3 separate regions of the Homo sapiens genome follow, and all the other regions are linked to region 3. Evidence: promoter capture Hi-C in 16 types of primary human blood cells and fetal thymus (Javierre and others, 2016). All regions are on one chromosome and are shown on one strand. Each heading gives the region's core, a stretch centred on a gene start or on the middle of the fragment in contact. The rest is flanking DNA. Distances are from core to core; before and after follow the strand shown.

The links. Contacts are between HindIII fragments. The CHiCAGO score rates a contact against its expected background, and 5 or more counts as called.
Region 1: a fragment that was not itself captured here is called in contact with the fragment with the promoter of LYPD3 in region 3 in 9 of 17 cell types (naive CD4 T cells, naive CD8 T cells, total CD8 T cells and 6 more); the score reaches 13.0 in naive CD4 T cells.
Region 2: a contact is called between a fragment that was not itself captured here and the fragment with the promoter of LYPD3 in region 3, in 10 of 17 cell types (fetal thymus, non-activated CD4 T cells, total CD8 T cells and 7 more). The highest score is 14.2, in fetal thymus.

What each region holds. Positions count from the first base shown.
Region 1 is chr19:43,596,213-43,600,128 of GRCh38, forward strand. ZNF576 (zinc finger protein 576) reads left to right here and starts at 383. Exons shown (of 3, transcript NM_001145347.2): 1 at 383-531; 2 at 882-981; 3 at 2,619-3,916. The coding sequence starts at 897. The coding sequence ends at 3,046. RefSeq lists an enhancer at 1-417. The HindIII fragment of the contact is 3,632 bases long and covers 709-3,916 here.
Region 2 is chr19:43,665,153-43,668,925 of GRCh38, forward strand. PLAUR (plasminogen activator, urokinase receptor) reads right to left here. Exons shown (of 7, transcript NM_002659.4): 2 at 2,429-2,539; 3 at 164-307. LOC124904724 (a long non-coding RNA gene) reads left to right here and starts at 3,612. Exons shown (of 3, transcript XR_007067264.1): 1 at 3,612-3,773. RefSeq lists a silencer at 3,516-3,745. The HindIII fragment of the contact is 2,395 bases long and covers 1,105-3,499 here.
Region 3 is chr19:43,463,172-43,467,056 of GRCh38, forward strand. It overlaps LYPD3 (LY6/PLAUR domain containing 3), which reads right to left and starts at 2,437. Exons shown (of 5, transcript NM_014400.3): 1 at 2,322-2,437; 2 at 1,154-1,285; 3 at 428-598; 4 at 1-116. The coding sequence starts at 2,400. RefSeq lists enhancers at 1-25, 56-105, 658-1,189 and a silencer at 256-415. The HindIII fragment of the contact is 14,493 bases long and covers 1,426-3,885 here.

The DNA of each region.
Region 1 (3,916 bases), core at 1,275-3,774, 130 kb after region 3:
AACGGCCGAAGTGTGCACGCCCCTCTTTGGCGGCCTCAGGGCCTAGAACAATGAATGAGTCAACGCGCCTGCGCGCCACGAGAGCCTACCCACGCATGCGCAAAAGGCTTAGCTAGCTAAGCCGCGGGAGGCTGAACGTCATCAAACGCGCCATAGGGCAGAGAAGGACCCCTCCCGTTATTTTGAGGACCGGGCTGGTGCGACTATACTACTGCCGGATGGCAAATCCGGGATCTCGGCTCCGAGAGGCTCATCTGGCAAAAGGGCGCGGAAACCACGGGGGCCCTGAGACTGAGTGGTCCCTATCCCACTTCTCTCTGGGGCGGCGCTGTAGCCAGCGGCTGACAGGCGCAGCGAAAGGCAGCCCTCTGCTGTAAGGAGGAAAACTGAGGCCTGGGAGCAGGAACCTGTAGGCAGCGCTTGAGGGTAGCGGGATAGCAGCTGCAAGCGCGCGTGGGAGGCGGGGGCTCTGGGCGGAACAAAAATCACAGGATGTCAGAGGATGTTTCCCGGGAAGAACTGGGATAAAGGGTGGGTATCACTACCTGCCCCAAGACACTTGAGATTGGGATGACGCTGGTGTCAAAGATCAAGGCTTCCACGCTGAGTTCAGGGAGTTAGTTTGATGCAGCAGGTCATAGGTCACACCAGTGAGAAGACTCTAGGGGAGTCCCAAACCCAGGAAATCCAGTCCTTTGGGAGGTTTGAAGCTTCTTTTAGCAAGAACTCCATCAATTAGAGTTCAAGGAGATAGTATGTCGTAGGGGTCAAAGGCAGGCAAGGAGAGCCTCTGGCGATGTCAAAGGTCATAGACTTAGGGTGCCCTCTAAGACTGGTAACAGATGAACAGCTTCACTTATGCACGCTCCTCTCCTGACTAGAAGGGTCCCAGCACCATGGAGGACCCGAACCCTGAAGAGAACATGAAGCAGCAGGATTCACCCAAGGAGAGAAGTCCCCAGAGCCCAGGAGGCAACATCTGTGAGTACACATGGCTGGCGGGCTAGAGGAGGGTGGGGTGCAGGAGCTGATGCTAAGATCTCTGTGGCACTTCGGTGTCCAAGGCGCCACAGAGTTTTGCCTGTTGAGAAGGGGCTGTAATGGTCCCTGAGCTGCTCTAGCAGGAAGTGCATCTCCTCACACCAGCTTATGTGGCCAGAGTACTCACCCTCCTCTGGCCACATAAGCAGGATTGCAATGCTTATGCATTCAGAGGGATAGGGTGGCTTCCAGGAGAGGCTTGGGTTGGAGATGTGGCTGGGAATGGTTCTATTGGGAGAGAAACCCCAAGATTCTGGTCCCAACTCTGCCCTAGACTTTCAGTGTAACTTGGGCCTTGGTTTCCTTGACTGTCAAAAGAGGGTGGTACTTCCCACCTCACAGGGTGGGTATGGGATTAACTGCAGCAAAGGGGAAAGCTAGGGGTTAATGATGGTAGCCAGTTTGACATGTAATAGCAACACCTCCTGCTCAGTGTTTTATTATGAGCTAGGTGTATTTATTCTCATATTATGAACCATTTTAACATTCATTATCTCATTGAGTCCTTCTAATAATAGGCCCTTTAAACTGGGAACTGAGGCAGAGAGAGGTATTTGTAACAAGAGCTGTAGTCTCAATGCCCTTGAGCCAGAGACTACCAGGAACACACCTGCAGTTGAACACGTTGGGTTTCTCACTGCAATGAACACAGACCATGGGGGGACTGTGGGGTGTCTCACTAAGAATGGTAAAAACGACACAGGATTTGGGCTTGTGGGTGGTGATTTTGGGGAAGGTTCAAGCAAAATTGTTTTGCTCTGGATTGGATGCTACCAGGAAGCAGGGGCAATTCTATGATTGGCTATCGTAATAAATCTTACCCAGAAGGAGGAAGGAAGGAGGCGAGGCTCAAGCTCTGACTGATAAAGCAGCAGCAGACATTCACATTAGCCAGGATAGGAGGATGTTTGGTCATTTTTCTGCTTGGACAGTATTCATATTTTGTCTGTGCTCAGACATTATGATGATGTAGTCTTGTCTTGATTCATTTTAGTCACAGCGTGGCCTTGTCTGTCCTTGATATTCTGTGAAAATTTATGTTCAACAGAACACCAAGGTCTAGCTGTGAGTACCAGGCCAGATCCTGGATGTCGGGCTGGATTTCTCTGTATCATTAGTCATAATTGCAAATGACTGTACAGCAATTCATTTATTCCTTCCAACGGTCCTATGGAGTAGATACTGTTATTAGCCCATTTTCCAGATAAGGAAACTGGTGTAATTGCCTAGGAAGTGGTGGAGGTGAGATTCAATCCCAAGCAGTCTGGCTCCAAAGGCTGTGCTGTAATCACCATACCCCTCTGTTGGGCAGGCTGACTCTCTGGGTTCCAACCCTGGCTCCACCATTTCCTTTCCTAGCCTCATGACTATGGGCAACTTGCCTAACCTCTTTGAATCTCAGTTTGCTCATCCATAAAATAGGTGCAAGAACAGTTCTCCTGTTTGGTTGTCCAGCATTAGCATAGAACCTAGCACATAACACATTCAATGTTAATTGTTGGTGTGATTCTGGGGTTCAGGAAGAGGTCTTGGAGACTCCTGCTGGCCTCCCCTGACCTCTCCCCCACATTCCTCAGGCCACCTGGGGGCCCCGAAGTGCACCCGCTGCCTCATCACCTTCGCAGATTCCAAGTTCCAGGAGCGTCACATGAAGCGGGAGCACCCAGCGGACTTCGTGGCCCAGAAGCTGCAGGGGGTCCTCTTCATCTGCTTCACCTGCGCCCGCTCCTTCCCCTCCTCCAAAGCCCTAATCACCCACCAGCGCAGCCACGGTCCAGCCGCCAAGCCCACCCTGCCGGTTGCAACCACTACTGCCCAGCCCACCTTCCCTTGTCCTGACTGTGGCAAGACCTTTGGGCAGGCTGTTTCTCTGAGGCGGCACCGCCAGATGCATGAGGTCCGTGCCCCTCCTGGCACCTTCGCCTGCACAGAGTGCGGTCAGGACTTTGCTCAGGAAGCAGGGCTGCATCAACACTACATTCGGCATGCCCGGGGGGAGCTCTGAGTGCAGCTTAAGCCTCTCCACGGTGACGGGTGGCTCTGTGGCTGGTAGGACTCACCCATGATATGGGGTGCAGGAACTCTGGGGGCCCTGAAGGATTTGCTTCCCTCCCCTGGGAAGGCAGAGGGCTCTTAATAAAGAGGACCCAGAAGATTCTTATTTAGAGCTTCAGTCTTTGGAGCACACAGGGCCTTCGTGAGACAGTGAAATCAGATAATAATGAGATCTTTTGTTAAAAAAAAAAAATGGGAAGGGAGTGCGGGAGAGAAATGGTTTGTGTCTCCCTTATTCCCAGTTAAATACCTAGCTGCAGATTGTGCCATCACCCTTCATTCTTCCCAGATGGATGCCATGGGCTATGGGAGCAAATTGCCCTGGACCTTTGCCTGAATGGGGGCAGGAAAGGTGAGGTGTTGCTGGCCTGTAATGCCACCAGGTGAGTTCCAGATGTGGAGCAACTTGGGCTTTTGGGGATGGGGCAGCAAAGTTGGGAGCTGGACCCCAATTGAGTGGGGGTAGCAATTGGAGTCCTTGTGTCTCTTTTCCACCCCCTGCCATCCTCACTTAGAGGGGCCATGGCACTAGATGGCACTAGTCCCCCGATAATTTATGTCTCGTTGAAATAATTTTGTATATCATTCTAGTCCTGAAATATTTTTTTCATATGTGTAGGTGAAATGGTATGAATAAGCTAACAGGAATAGTATCTAAAAACAGAAAACATCCATATTAAAATGTCTAAACAGGGAGCTCTGGCTTTTGAGTGGGAATTTCCAGAGAACATAAGGGTGTGGGCAGGTGGGGGAACTCAGGCCAGAGTTGGCCTCGCTTTGTGGGGAAACTGGTTTGGAATCAAACAGAGATACCTTCTGT
Region 2 (3,773 bases), core at 1,052-3,551, 200 kb after region 3:
GGGGATGGAGCTGAGCTAGAGATGGGTTGGGTTGGGGTTGGGACTTGGATAAGGCATGGAGTTGGGGTTCAGCTGATGTAAAGTTAAGAATAGGATTGGGATGATGATGAGGTTGAGCTGGGGATGGCTTGGGGTTGGGGATGGCAAGGGCTGCCCTACTCACCAGAGTTGCCCTGGTTGCACAAGTCTAACCCACACACAACCTCGGTAAGGCTGGTGATCTTCAAGCCAGTCCGATAGCTCAGGGTCCTGTTGGTCTTCTCTGAGTGGGTACAGCTTTTCTCCACCAGCTCCAGCTCTTCTCCTTCTGCAAGGAGGGGATCTTCATTACCCCAGAGGCTCCTCTCAGCTCAACCAGCCTCTGACACTCCTGGTCTCAAGGTCATCCACTCCCAGGGCTGATCTCTGCTAGGCCTCTTCTGTTATTTGAGTCGAACTCTGTCTTTTTCTAGAGTTAACCTTGCCTCCACCCCCACCCCAACAAGGAGCCTGCTCTATTTTATTTCAATTAATTAATTAATTAATTTTTTTTTCCGGGAGACAGGGTCTTGCTCTGTCACCCAGGCTGGAGTGGTGCAATCATAGCTCACTGGAGCCTTGACCTCCCAGGCTCAAGCAGTCCTGCTTCGGCCTCCCGAGTAGCTGGAACCACAGGCTTACATCACCACACCCTGCTAATTTTTAAATTTTTTATACAGATGGCATCTCACTATGTTGCCCAGGCTGATCTCAAACTCCTGGCCTCAAGTGATCCTCCCACCTTGGCCTCCCAAAGTGCTGGAATTACAGGTGTGAGCCACTGTGTCCCACTCCTGCTCTTGTAGTGACAGCACTACAACTGGGACTTTCTGGATCCATCTATCCCTCCCCCACACCCTCAGCTTAGTGATCTCAGTACTGAGATGCCTCAAATGTAACTTTATTTTATTTATTTATTTATTAGAAACAGGGTCTCTGTTGTCCCAGCTGGGGCAATCATAGCTCACCACAACCTCGAACTTCTGGGCTCAAGGAATCCTTCTGCCTTAGCCTCCTGAGTAGCTAGGGGTACAAATGTGAGCTACTGTGCTTGGCTTCATATACTGTTGTTTCATGTGTTCTTAAAGCTTATAAAAAACGTATCATATTCTGCAACATTTTTTTCCCTCTCAACCTTAGGTTTCTGAGATGTGTCCACATTGGTATCTGCAGCTCTATTTCCTTCTTTAAGCTGCAGTAGAGCGCTCCATTATGTAATTATTACCACAGTGTTTCTCTTCTGCTGCTGACTTGCTGACTGACATAAAGTCGTTTCCATTTTCTTCTTTTCTTTCTTTCTCCCCTTCCTTCCTCCCTCCTCCCTCCCTCCCTCCCTGCCTCTCTCCGTCCCTCCCTCCCTTCCTCTCTCTCTTTCTCTCTCTCTCTCTTCCTTTCCTTTCTTTCTTTCTTTCTTGAGATGGAGTTTTGCTCTTGTCGCCCAGGCTGGAGTGCAATGGCACAATCTCAGCTCACTGCAACCTCCGCCTCCTGGGTTCAAACAATTCTCCTGTCTCAGCCTCCCGAGTAGCTGGGATAACTGGTGCCTGCCACCAAGCCCGGCTAATTTTTGTATTTTTTAGTAGAGACAGGGTTTCACCATGTTGGCCAGGCTGGTCCTGAACTCCTGACCTCAGGTAATCCACCTGCCTCAGCCTCCCAAAGTGCTGGGATTACAGGTGTGAGCCACCATGCCCGGCCCACCTTTCTCTCTTTCGTTCATTTTTTTGACAGGATCTCGCTCTGTCGCCCAGGCTGGAGTGCAGTAGCATGATCTCAGCTCACTGCAACCTCCACCTCCCAGGTTCAAGCAATTCTCCTGTCTCAGCCTCCCAAGTAGCTGAGATTACAGGTGCGTGCCACCACACTCGGCTAATTTTTCCTTTTTTGTGTGTGTGTGGAGACGGGTGTTTCACCATGTTGGCCAGCCTGGTCTTGAACTCCTGACCTCAAGCAATTCATCCGCCTCTGCCTCCCAAAGTGCTGGAAATACAGGTGTGAGCCAGTGCCCAGCCTGTTTCCAATTTTCCATGTCACAAACATTGCTGCTAAGAACATTCGTATACATGTGTCCCTGGGTATATGTGGCCAAGGTTCTTTGGCATTTCTGCATGGCGAGGAGTTGAGCTGTAGCATATGTTAATCTTCATCTGGACTAGATATTGCCGAATCGCTCTAAGTGGTTGATGTGCCAATTTACTCCCCCACCACAGACACGGTCTGCAACTCCACATCCTTACTAACCCGGGTATTGTCAGATTTTTAAATGCTTGCCAATCTGGTGGGTGTGAAATGGGCTCTCCTTGTTTGTTTGTTTTTAGTTTGCATGTCCCAGTTACTGGTGAGGAAGGTTTCTCAATCACTCGCGTTCCATGCTGCGCTGGAGGGGTGTGTGGGTTGGGGGGAAGCTCACCTTCCCACAAGCGCACGATCGTGGTCCTGCAGAGGTCCTGTCCCAGGGCGCACTCTTCCACACGGCAATCCCCGTTGGTCTTACACTGCATGCACCGCAGGCCCCAAGAGGCTGGGGGAAGGAGGGAGAGGAGAGGAGAGGTTAACTACGCTTAGCTCCAAGACCCCCGCTCACCCCTGCATGTCCCAATACCAACACCAAGTCTCCAGGCCCCGTCCATTCAGATTCGTGTCCATGTTCTGCTGGGTTCCGGCCGGCGGTACTTCCAGTCTGTCCGTTGTCCACGTTCTACCTCCACCCCACTAACTGAACGTTCTATCCCTGCCCACAAGTCCTTTCCCAAAGTCCTGCCTTGGCCCGTTTTTCCTTTCATTCTGTCCTCGTGAGGCGTATATCCTGACAGTCGTATCCCCGCCCTCTCTATCAGTACGTTCTATTCCTGCTCCTATTAGGTCTTTCTCACCGCACCGGCCCTCGGTCGATTACGCCTCTCCAGTTCTGCTGGGGACGTTCTAGCCTTGCCCCACCCGCGTCGATCTTTATGTTATACCGTCACTCCCAGTGCCCTAATGGAACTATCCCTCCACTCACTCCCCCTGGTTCTACCCGGCTCCAGAGCCTCTCCCGGCCCACTAATTTATTCCCAAATTCTAGGCCCGGCCCCATCAGCCCTCCGGAGTTTCTATTGTTAGATACTCTAGTTTCCCGCGAAGTTCTGTCTCCGCCCTCCAGCTCTCCAACTAGGTTTTGGCCCCGCTCCAGACTCATCGTCGAGGTTCTAGCCCCGCCCTTTAGCTCTTCCTGACCTTATCTTCCCGCCCCCTAGCTCCTCCCCGATGCCATAACCCCGCCCCTAGCTCCTCCTCGAGGCTTTAGTCCCTCCCTCTAGCTCCTCCTTGAGATTCTAACTTCGCCCTTTAGCTCTCCCCGCCCCTAGTTTTCCCCTGAGGTCATAACTCCGCCCCAGTCCCTTCTTGAGGTTTCAGCCCCACCCTGTAGCTCCTCCCCGAGGTCGTAACCCCCGCCCCTTGGCCCCTTGAGGTCCTAGCCCAGCCCCGTAGCTCCTCCCCAAGCTTATAACCCCGCCCCTAGCCCCTCCTTGAGGTTCCAGCCCCGCCCTCTAGCTCCTCCCCGAGGTTATAATCCTGCCCCTCAAGAGTCTAGTCCCACCTTCTAGCTCCTCCCGAGGTTATAACTCCGCCCTCTGGTTACGCCTCGAGGTTATAACCCCGCCCTCTGGCTCCGCCTCGAGGTTCTAGCCCCGCTCCTAGCTCTTCCTCGGTCTGTAACCTCTCCCGTAGCTCTTCCTTGAGGTTCCAGCCCCGCCCTCTGGCTCCTCCCCGAC
Region 3 (3,885 bases), core at 1,187-3,686:
ATCGCTGGCGTTGTAGCAGCTCACGACCGGCGGCGATGTACCCTGGCACGCCTCCCGGCTCAGGCCCACACAGCTGTAGCACTCCACGCCGTTGGGCGGGTATGCACTCTCATTACCTGCGAGGGGAGCCGAGAGGAAGAAAAGGTGTCGAAAGGGTTCGGGAACCGCAGCTCGTCCTCTAGCCCCGCCCCTAAGGCCTGGCCCCGGCACTATCGATGACCCCGCCTACTAGTAGCCCCGCCCCAGCGCGCAACCTCGCGGCGCCTACAGCCAGAAAGTCCCTCCTGCTGCCTCTTGGCCCCGCCCCAGAGTGTGACCCCACCCCCAGCCCAGGTCGAGTACTCCCGCCTCTGCCACGGCTCCACCTCTATCTTGGCAGGCCCGAATGTGGCTCCGCCCCCGCAGCTACGGCCCGGCCCCCACGGACCTGCCGGGTCGAGCGCCCGCGAGGTGAGGTTGAGCTTGGCGTTGCAGCGATCCTGAGCGCATTGCTGCAGCTGGATGAACGCCAGAAGCCCGTGAAGATCCAGGCCGCGGTCATTCTTGCCGGGGAGTCCCGAACCGCAACCCCGCACTGCCAGCGAGAATTGTCCGTGGACTAGGGAGAGGGACAAGGGCGGGATTAGCTGTGGGCGTGGTCTCAGATGGGGCGTGGCCCAGAGTTGGGTAGGGTCTGGGAGGGGCGGGGCCTCAAATAGGCCAACACCACAGGACCGACAGGCAGGAATTGGCGGATGGACGCCCCCAAAGAGCCGCTCAGAGCGGAAAGAACGACCGAAGCAGGGAGGAGCGGGGTCACGGAACGGGGGCGGAACCTCAAAGAGCTGAGTCGGAGGAGACAGCCTGGTTGACAGGCAGGGATGGGGAGGTCTCATTGGTGGAGCAGAAAAAGTGCATAGGACGTGACCTCGTTCCAAACCCGAGCTCTCCCCGTCCGCCCCACCCAGTTCTCAACTCTCTGCTCCTCGCGCTTGTAATTGTTAATAGAGAAGGCCTGGCCTGCAAGGCTGTGTCGTAGGGTCCCGGCCAGGCTGAAAGGGAGGGGTGGGGCCGCGTTAAAGGGGCGTGGCCAGATCCAGAAAGGACTATAAGGAGGCGGGGCTGGGCCGGAGGAGCCTGCAGTGGTGTGCGTGGCCCGGGGGTCCCCACTCACTGGTCTCCACCGCCCCCACGGCCTCGGTGCAGACGTCCACGCCCGGCGCGCACTTCACTGTCTTCATCTTGTTCGGGGAGCATCCGTCATCTGCTTTCTGCACGCAGCTGTAGCACTCCAGGGCCTGCGCTCCTGGGGGAGCGGAGCCGAATAGACCTGAGCCCTCCTTGCTAAAGCGTCCACCCCCAAGGAGAAATAGTCCTTCCCATGCCCTCTGTCCCGGGATTAGACAGTCTTATTGCACACACTTTTCCAGGGCAGGAGTAGGGAAAAGCTTTCCACAAATCTGGAAGCACGGGAATCACTGGACCCTTTTCCTTCACACCCACTATGCCAACTGTGGGCACATCCTTCCGACAGCCCTGTATGCCCACTGTAGGCGATCCCCGCCATGAAGCCCCTCATCCCGGGGTAGGAAGGATACCTCCTCACGGTTTTCTGCTCAGAATGAGAGAACTTTTCCCACAGTGTGTGGGAGAACTTTTCCCACAGTAGACTGTGCTCAGTGAGGGATCCCTTCCCACAGCCCCCTTCTGCTCAAATGAGAGAACACTACCCACAGCTTCTCTGCCCAGGACAGGGAACACTTTTTTCTTTTTTTCTTTTTTTCTTTTTTTTTTTTTTGAGACGGAGTCTCGCTCTGTCGCCAGGCTGGAGTGCAGTGGCGCAATCTCGGCTCACTGCAACCTCCCCTCCTGGATTCAAACGATTCTCCTGCCTCAGCCTCCCGAGTAGCTGGGACTACAGGCTCGCGCTACCGCGCCCAGCTAATTTTTGTATTTTTAGTAGAGACAGGGTTTCACCATGTTGGCCAGGCTGGTCTCGATCGTTTGACCTCATGATCCGCCTGCCTCGGCCTCCCAAAGTGCTGAGATTACAGGCATGAACCACCGCGCCCGGCCTAGGAACAGGGGACTTCTTTCTGCAGCTTCAGGATAGGAAAATTTTGCCCACAGCTCCCCTTGTCCGTGGTGGGGAACCCTTCCTACGGCCCATGGTGGAGGACCCTTCCCTCTGCCTCCCTTGCTTAGGATGGGGGAACTTTGCCCACAGTGCCCTCTGCTTATGTGGGGATCCTTCCCACAGCCTTCTCTGTACGGGGCCAGAGGAGCCTCCTCCCTAAGAGCCCCCACTCTACCCCCTCCACCTCTCCGGGCAGCAGACCCACCTCCGCGAAGCAGCAGCAGCAGCAGCCAGCCTGCAGTCCAGATCATGGCCTGGGCACCTGCTTTCCTGGCGGGGTCCATGGCTCCGTCCTGCTCCCTTGGCGTCCCCCCTGGATGTGCCGCCTCCGAGCTCGGGCCCTCTTACCTGAGCCCAGGATGAGTAACCTCGCCCCAGGCAACCCCAGCCTTGCCCAACCGGGCCAACTCAGCGTCGGCTGTGGGGCGGGGCCCCGCCCCTAGGCGCGTCATCCAAGGGAGAGCGGTCCCTGCCCTGTGAAGTTGCCAAGGAGGGAAAGGGTGGGAGCTGAGGTTCCCTGACAGCTCGCGGGAGAAAGTCTGTGTGTGTTTGGAGTGGGAGAGTAGTGGGGCTTAAAGACAGGCTGGGGCTACTCGACATTCAGTGTTCGGTAACTGTTAAATGAGCATCTACAGTGTGCCCGGCTTTGGTCTAGGTAATGCTGGAGATGAAGACAGAACCAGTGCCTGTCCTGGCAGAGCTCACAGTCTGATGGGGGAGACAGATGCTAATCAAATAATCGTACAAATTGGTGTTTACCAAAGAGACTAAGACACTGAAGGAAAAAGTGTAGTGATACAAGGAGATGTGCAGTCTAGAAGTGGGGGCTGGTCGGTGAGGGCTTCCTTGAGGTTATCTGAGATGCAACCTCAAGGGCATGCAGGATGTAGCCAGCTAGAGCAGGTCAAGAGAGGGACACAGCCCTTTACAAGCAGAGGGAACAGCACGTGGGAGCACCTGGAGGTAGGAGGTAGGATGGACCATTCAAACATGGAAAGGAGAGCAGTGCTCCTGAGCTCAGAAGTCCATGAGAGAAGGGCAGGAACTGAGATGAAAGAGTCAGGCAGAGGCCGAGACACTCAGGGCATCAGAGGCCCCGACAAGAGATTTGGATTAATTTTGAGAATAGTAGAGAACCTTTAAGAGGGTCTAAATGAGCTGGAGGACATAATAGATTTGCTTCCTAATATGATCAACCTGAGAAATAGTGCAGCTAGCCATCAAGAAGTAAATGGAGGCCGGGCGCGGTGGCTCATGCCTGTAATCCCAGCAATTTGGGAGGCCGAGCTGGGTGGATCACTTGAGATCAGGAGTTTGAGACCAGCCTGGGCAACATGGCGAAACCTCATCTCTATTAAAAAAAAATAATAAATTTAAAAAAATTAGCCAGGTGCAGTGGCGTGCACCTGCTGTCCCAGCTACTCGGAAGGGTAGGGCAGGAGAATCACTTGAGCCCAGGAGGTGGAGGTTGCAGTGAGCTGAGATCACGCCACTGCACTCCAGCCTGGGCAACAGAGTGAGACCCTGTCTCAAAAAAAAAAATTTAAAAATTTAAAAATTAAAAAAAAGTAAATGGATCTGAGAGTAGGATATATGATTTTAAAAAAGGAAAAAGAAAAAGAAGTGAATGGCAAAAGAGAGTGGTTGGTTCGGCCAATGGAATACTACACAGCAATAGAAAAGATCCAACACCTGATATATGCAGCAACATATCTCAAAAACTTTGTGTTGGGGCCAGGCACAGTGGCTCACACCTGTAATCCCAGCAC